Regions from separate parts of the Homo sapiens genome. Here region 2 is linked to region 1. Evidence: promoter capture Hi-C in human tissues and cell types (Jung and others, 2019). All regions are on one chromosome and are shown on one strand. Each heading gives the region's core, a stretch centred on a gene start or on the middle of the fragment in contact. The rest is flanking DNA. Distances are from core to core; before and after follow the strand shown. Region 1 holds the start of YWHAB (tyrosine 3-monooxygenase/tryptophan 5-monooxygenase activation protein beta). Region 2 overlaps ADA (adenosine deaminase).

The links. The method cuts DNA at HindIII sites, captures the fragments that hold promoters and counts their contacts. A contact is called where the count stands out against the background at its distance.
Region 2: a fragment that was not itself captured here is called in contact with the fragment with the promoter of YWHAB in region 1 in 1 of the 25 tissues and cell types used here (dorsolateral prefrontal cortex).

The regions. Positions count from the first base shown.
Region 1 is chr20:44,883,287-44,886,954 of GRCh38, forward strand. It overlaps YWHAB (tyrosine 3-monooxygenase/tryptophan 5-monooxygenase activation protein beta), which reads left to right and starts at 2,419. Exons shown (of 6, transcript NM_139323.4): 1 at 2,419-2,600. RefSeq lists silencers at 2,043-2,102, 2,163-2,712 and an enhancer at 2,149-2,765. The HindIII fragment of the contact is 9,752 bases long and covers 1-3,668 here.
Region 2 is chr20:44,637,835-44,641,339 of GRCh38, forward strand. The region is part of intron 1 of ADA (adenosine deaminase); the gene reads right to left. Among named protein-coding and RNA genes, the nearest start is that of ADA, 12 kb to the right of the region's middle. RefSeq lists an enhancer at 1-3,505. The HindIII fragment of the contact is 5,650 bases long and covers 1-3,505 here.

The sequences.
Region 1 (3,668 bases), core at 1,169-3,668:
AACATTTATCTGTATCGCTGTCAGTTCATAGCTGTGGTTTGCTGACGCTTGGCCTAGAATGCAGAGATGGTGAAATAAGCTAATCCATTGAACCCTTTAACAGGCACCTAGGAATGCCTGACAAAGGGCACTTCTGTTCCCTCAATGCACTGTTGATGTCATTTGTGGTATAATCATTATTAGCCCTCTGGTCCATTAGGCTATTTTCTGGATGACGGCATAAGGCACAGTCTTGTGACATTAAAAGTTACTTAGCCTGAGTAGTCTCTAGATTACTGGTCTAGGGTCTGCCAAAGACGATCCTCATGGGGAAGTTTTTGCACTAACCTCTCCAGGATTCAAATCCAATGGTTTTGACCCAAAACCATGCTGTTTACGTTACACAACACGTTCTCAATCTTGTTCAACTTAAAAGGTGGCACAGTACAGGGGTCACTGGCACACATGCCTACATGACAGATAACATAAGTGACAAAAGCAGACTCAGGTCGAGAAGGGTCCCTGGCATTTGGGAAAGTCCATGCCCAGTCTAGAACAGGCAGCCACTCCTTGGCTTCAGCCAATTGTTGCCACACAGAAATGTGGACACAGTGTTACCAGACAAGGCAGAGAGGCAGATTTCTGTTCACACAGAAACTTTTCAGTTTAAAAAAGTGTTGGCAACTAAGTCAAACTGCTTAGAAATACTGGAGATGGCATATTGGGAGGGTAAGGAATCATCCAATTGAATTGGGGTATTTACGATGGGGGAGAAATAGCAGCTAAAGGATAAGGGCAGCTTTTGGAGAACCCTGATTGTCACACTCAAGGAACTTATATATTGTCATCTAGGTCTGAGTGCACACTAAATAATTTAAGCAAGAACAGGACACGATTAGAATGGTATTTTTAAAAGATCACTTGGCAGTTGACGGGCGAGGCTGAGACCAAATGGTGAATTAGAAGTCTGTCATTTAGCTAAGTAAGGGTAAAGGCAAGACGGCAAAGGCCTATTTACTTGGCTTTTTCTCCTACCCGACTGCAAACTCCAAGACAGCAGGGCCCCACCTGCCTTGTTCATTGCTGTGTCTCCAGCACTAAGCAAAAAGCCTGTTCAACATTTGTTGAAAGAATAAATGAACAGGAGAGAGGGAAGGCGAGAGGCATTTTGAAGGACTGAGTTTAAAAATCAACTACCTTGAAGCCGGTCGAGGTGGTTCATGTCTGTAATCCCAGCACTTTGGGAGGCTGAGGCGGGTGGATCACCTGAGGTCAGGAGTTTGAGACCAGCCCGGCCAATATGGCGAAGCCCCGTGTCTACTAAAAATACAAAAACTAGCCGAGAGTGGTGGCATGCACCTGTTATCCCAGCTACTCAGGAGGCTGAGGCAGGAGAATTGCTTGAACCTGGGAGGCAGAGATTGCAGTGAGCCAAGATTGTGACACTGCCTGGGCGACAGAAAGAGACTCTGTCTCAAAAACAGAAAACAAAACAAAACAAAACAAAACAAAATCAACTACCTTCAGAGGAGTAGAATGTTGGTAATTGTGAGAGCAGTCATGGAGGGGAGGGGAGCCATGGAGGCCTGTTTCCTTCCCTGAACTTCCTCAACGAGGGGGCATCTTAAAGAAGAAATCATGTACACAGATTTTTGTGGGTTTTTTTTGGAGACAGGGTCTCACTCTGTCTCCCAGGTTGGAGTGCAGTGGCATGACCATAGCTCACTGCAGCCTACAACTCCCGGCCTCAAGCAATCCTCTCACCTCAGCTTCCCAAAGTGCTGAGATTACAGGCGCGAACCACTGCGCTCGACCCTACACAGGTTTTTTAAAAAGACGTTTGTGCATTGGATTCCTGGCACTTCACGTGGCCTCTTCAGTCTACCAAAGAAGGAAAAGGTAAGTACCCTGAAGGATTGAAAGGATTAAATGAACATTGAGGGATGAGCAATTTCTGTTCTTCCCTGGCTCCAGCATTACCAAAGCACACAGTAAGAGGACTGACATCGGCCTCCGACCCAGTGAGGATTACTTTCGGGGTGGAGGGGGAACTGCTAAACCTCGAATCTCCGGGACTGGCCCTGGCGCGTTTCCAGTCCCAGCAGAAAGGGCAATCCCCATCCAGACCACACTCCTAGTCCTCCTTATTCCCACACAGCCCGTATCTTGACCACCCCCAGCTCCGCCCTCTCTCCTCCCACCTCCTTTTCCCGCTCCCCCGCCCCATTTCCTTCTTCTCCGCCCACCTCCTCCTGGGTCCCTCCCCCGGCCATCCGCCCTGCCCCGGCCCCTGCAACCCTGCCTTTCGCTCTTCTTCCTCCTCCCTTCCGTCTGCGCCCCTCCCGTGGGGCCGTGGCAACCCCGTGCCTCGCTTGCCCAATGAGAACACGGTTTGGGGCGGGGCGCGGCCAGGACCGGAGCGGAAGTGGCGATCGGAGCGGAAGTGGAGCTACCGCCACCGCCGCCGCCGATTCCGGAGCCGGGGTAGTCGCCGCCGCCGCCGCCGCTGCAGCCACTGCAGGCACCGCTGCCGCCGCCTGAGTAGTGGGCTTAGGAAGGAAGAGGTCATCTCGCTCGGAGCTTCGCTCGGAAGGGTCTTTGTTCCCTGCAGCCCTCCCACGGTGAGTGCGGCGCGGGGTCCGACCGGGGCCCCCGGGGGCCCAAACTCGAAGCCCCTCTCTGGCTGCTGCGACGACGGCGGCCCAGTGGGTGGGCCCCGTGGGGTAGCGGCGCGCTGCCTCTTTCGCTCCGCGCGGCCGCCGGCGGCGAGGCCAGACCTCGCAGCGGCCCCTCCCTGTTTCCGGGGCCGGGCCCTTTACCTCTTGGAGAGGCTCGGGCCGCCTGAGGTCCTGCCGGCCGGGCGGGGTGCAACTCCGTACTGTGCCGTAAGGGACAGCGGAGCCGGGGATCCCGGACCCTCCCTCACTATCTGCTTCGGGCCCCACGCGACCCCTCCCTGCGTCTTGGTCGGCAAGAACGTCCCCTTCAGCCCTGTCACCTCTGCTCCGTGCTTTCTGGTTTCCAGAAATTAAAATTTAATCAAACGCGGATGAGTTTTCTAGCCCCAGTCCCCGTGTTTGGCTCCTCCTGGATGAGTAAGGGGTTTAACCTTGGGAGACAGCAGTGGGGGAACCCCCTCCCATTTTGCAGTAAAACCATTTCATCATCCTTCACTGGTTATGGAGCCTGGCAGGACCCAAGATTCCCTAGGAAGGGAATTGGGTTTGAATCAAGAAAATCTGTTTGTTGGAGCCGGTTACTGAGTCAGGCCGGATCCCCAGGAAAAAATATCAGGGGGTGAGAATCGGAGTATTTTCTCACAGTATTTACCGTCATTTAATGCCAGATTCTTTTGTGTCTTTACCCCAAATTCCCCCATATTGTGTGTTAGCACGTTTTTCGGTCTGAAATTTGCCCGGTGGCTTCCTGGTCGGGGGGTGGGGAGCGGAGGGAAGAAGAGGTGGGAAGGTGAGTGCATCTTTGCCGCAAATGGAGAACTCCCATATAATGGGGTTTTCAGAGGTGGCAGCCTTGGTAAGCAATTTGCCAACCTTTCTGTAAAATACATGTTTCTTGTCGTTGCCTTCATTGCATTTCTCTTTGGTAAGGCTAGATAGCATCAGGTCCTGATTTTGCTTGCCCTGTGTGGGAGATGGAATTTGGCAAGATGATGCTATGAACATAAAATC
Region 2 (3,505 bases), core at 835-3,334, 250 kb before region 1:
CTTAGTTGTTGAATTCCCTGACAAAATGAGTTCAGTTCCCACCCAGCCAAACGTCTGTTTCTCGGGTTCTCAAAATATGCTCAGCATTGGGAATACTGAAGCTTATAGCCCAGGGAACGGCCAACCAGCTGTGTGACCTCAGGCAAGGGACCTCAACTCTCTGAGCCTCTGTTTTCTATCCTTAACCCTCACAGGGCTATGGAGAGGGCCCAGCCAGAGAGCCGGAGTCACACTGTATAGAGCATCATGCGGTTAGAGCTGGAATCTCGGCTCCTCCACTCACTCCCTGCTTGACCCTGAGAAAGTCACTTCACTTCCTGTGCCTCGGCATCCTCATCTGTTAAGTGGGGAGAATGGCAGTCCTTCCTTCTAGGCTTCATGAGGGTTAACTGCATTAGTAGGCAGGGAGTTCTTGGCACATAGCAAATGCTAAATAGTTGTCAACTAAAAGTCAATGAAGGCTGGGCATGGGGGCTCACGCCTGTAATCCAGCCACTTTGGGAGGCCGAGGTGGGTGGATCACCTGAGGCCAGGAGTTTGAGACCAGCCTGGCCAACATGGTGAAACCCCATCTCTACTAAAAATGCAAAAAATTAGCCAGGCGTGGTGGCGCACACCTGTAATCCCAGCTACTTGGGAGGCTGAGACAGGAGAATCACCTGAACCTGGGAGGCAGAGGCTGCAGTGAGCCGAGATTACGCCACTGCACTCCAGCCTGGGCGACAAGAGCGAAACTGCATCTCAAAAATAAAAAATAAGAATAAAATAAAAGTCAACGAAGGCCTGCGCTCCTGCTGGATGCTAGATTGTAGAGTTAAACAGGAGGGTCCAAGTCCTGTTCCTGGGGCTTGTACAGGCCCCAGAGTGGGAGAGGCATTAAGCAAATGTCACATGGGAAAATGTACAGTCACAAACCAAGACGACTCCTTGGGAAGTACGAACACAGTCCTATGACAGAGGGTAACAAACAAGAGAAGTGAATACATCTAGAGGGCCAACAATGAGCCTGAGCGAAAAGCTAGAGGATAGCGAGGAACCCACAACACAAGGCAGGGGTGCGGAGGGAGGCAGGAAGAAAATTCCAGGCAGAAGGAACAGCATGTGCAAGGCCCTATGGCAGGAGAAAACGGGGTATATGAAATGGATTAAATAGAGGTTCAGAGAAGGGAGGGTTCATGGTACTGGAGAGGCTGCAGGATAGGACCACCCAGGCAGGGCTGTGCGGGCCACGAGGAGTCAGGCTTTATCTGGAAAGCACACAGAGGCCATTGCAGGGTTGGCAGCTGGTTAGAGAAAGAGGATGGCTCCTCCAAGGCCAGTTAGAGGCTACTGCAGCCATTTGAAAGATGACGGTGGCTTGGACCAGGGTTGTGAGGTGCATAGAGGAAAAACAGGTGGATAGAAAGAGATGCCAAGGCTCACACTTCAGGTTAGGCCTGGGTGGGGAGCAATTCCCGCAGTTTGAGACAGAGAACTCTGGAAGAGAAGACCAAGTCCTGGAGCTCCCTCCAGGAGGGAGGATGCGGGGGAGGGAGGCATGATTGGTTTGGTTTTAGTTATGTTACACTAGAGACACCTTTTGTTTTTTGTTTTTTTAAGACGGAGTTTCACTCTGTTGCCCAGGCTGGAGTGCAGTGGCTCCAGCTCAGCTCACGGAAACCTCCACCTCCCGGGTTCAAGCGATTCTCCTGCCTCAGCCTCCCGAGTAGTTGGGACTACAGGCACCCACCACCATGCCCAGCTAATTTTTGTATTTTTAGTAGAGATGGGGTTTCACCATATTGGCCAGGCTGGTCTTGAACTCCTGACCTCAAGTGATCTGCCCACCTCGGCCTCCCAAAGTGCTGGGGTTACAGGTGTGAACCATCGTGCCCAGCCAACTGGAGATGCCTTTGAGATATCCAAAGGTAAGTGGAAGAACCCAGTGGGATACAAGAGTCTAGAGCTGGCCTGAGAAGCCCAAGCTGGGAATGTAGGTAGGAGTGTGGGTAAGCACAGAAGCTGTGGGCTTGAAGGAGCTCACCTAGGGAGAAAATATCAAGGGAGGTAAGGAAAAGGCCTAGGATGAAACTTTGACCAGCACAAGCACTTAATGGCCTTACGGAGGAGGCTGAGCCTACAGAACTGTGGCCAGAGAGGTGGGAGGGTGTGTGGTATGCAGAAGGCCAGGCCGTCAGATGTCAAGGAGAAGCGAGCAACGGTTCACAGGGTTAGCATAGTGGGCTGAATGGTGGCCCCCACAAAGCTGTCTACATGCTAATCCTAATCCCCAGAACCTGTAAATATTACCTTATATGGGTCGGGCGTGGTGGTTCATGCCTGTAATCCCAACACTTTGGGAGGCTGAGGTGGGTGGATCACTTGAGGTTAGGAGTTCAACACCAGCCTGGCCAACATGGTGAAATCCCCTCTCTATTAAAAATACAAAAATCAGCCAGGCATGGTGGCATGCACCTGTAGTCCCAGCTACTCAGGAGACTGAGGTAGGAGAATCATTTGAACCTGGGAGGCGGAGGTTGCAGTGAGCCGAGATTGAGCCACTAGCACTCCAGCCTGGGCAACAGAGCAATACTCCCTCTCAAAAAAAAAATATTAACTTATGGCGGGTGGATCACCTGAGGTCAGGAGTTCGAGACCAGCCTGGCCAACATGGTGAAACCCCATGTCTACTAAAAATACAAAAGTTAGCTGGGCATGGTGGCAGGTACCTATAATCCCAGCTACTCAGGAGGCTGAGGCAGGAGAATTGCTTGAACCTGGGGGCAGAGATTCCAGTGAGCCGAGATTAAATCACTTTACTCCAGCCTGGGTGAAAGTGCAAAACTCCACCTCAAAAAAAAAAAAAAAATTACCTTATATGGCAAAGTGTGATTATTAAATGTCTTGACAGGAAGAGTTTATCCTGGATTATCTGGTTGGGCCCTAGATGCAATCACATGTATCCTTATAAGACAGAAGCAGAGAGTTTTAAGAGAAACACACACAAGAGGAAGCAGCAACGTGACCTCAGAGGCAGAGACTGGAATGATGCAGCCACAAGCCAAGGAATGCCTAGAGCCACCAGCAACCAGAAGAGGCAAGGAATGGATTCCCCCGAGAGCCTTCAGTGGGCATGTGGCTCTGATGATATCTTGATGTTGGACTTCTGGCCCCCAGAACTGCCAGGGCACACGTTTCTGTTGGTTGAAGCCATGCAGGGTGTGGCAACTTGTCACGGCAGCCACAGAAAACTCACATGGTCAGGCCCTGCTGGAGGTCACAGGATGGAAGGGCAGAAACTTGTCCGTCGGGCTAAAAGCGCAGGCACTGGGGGCTTCAGAGGAGTAGTTCTTAACCCCGGCTGCAAGTTAGGAGCACGGGAAGTTCTGGCCAGTTCCCAAGGCCTCAACCCCATCTGAGGTCAATTAAAGAAAAATCCTTGGTGGCAGGCCCAGGTGGAGGACTTTTTTTAAAAAAACACGTAGTCAAGATTGGGAACCACTGCCGTAGAGGAACCGTTCTAGAG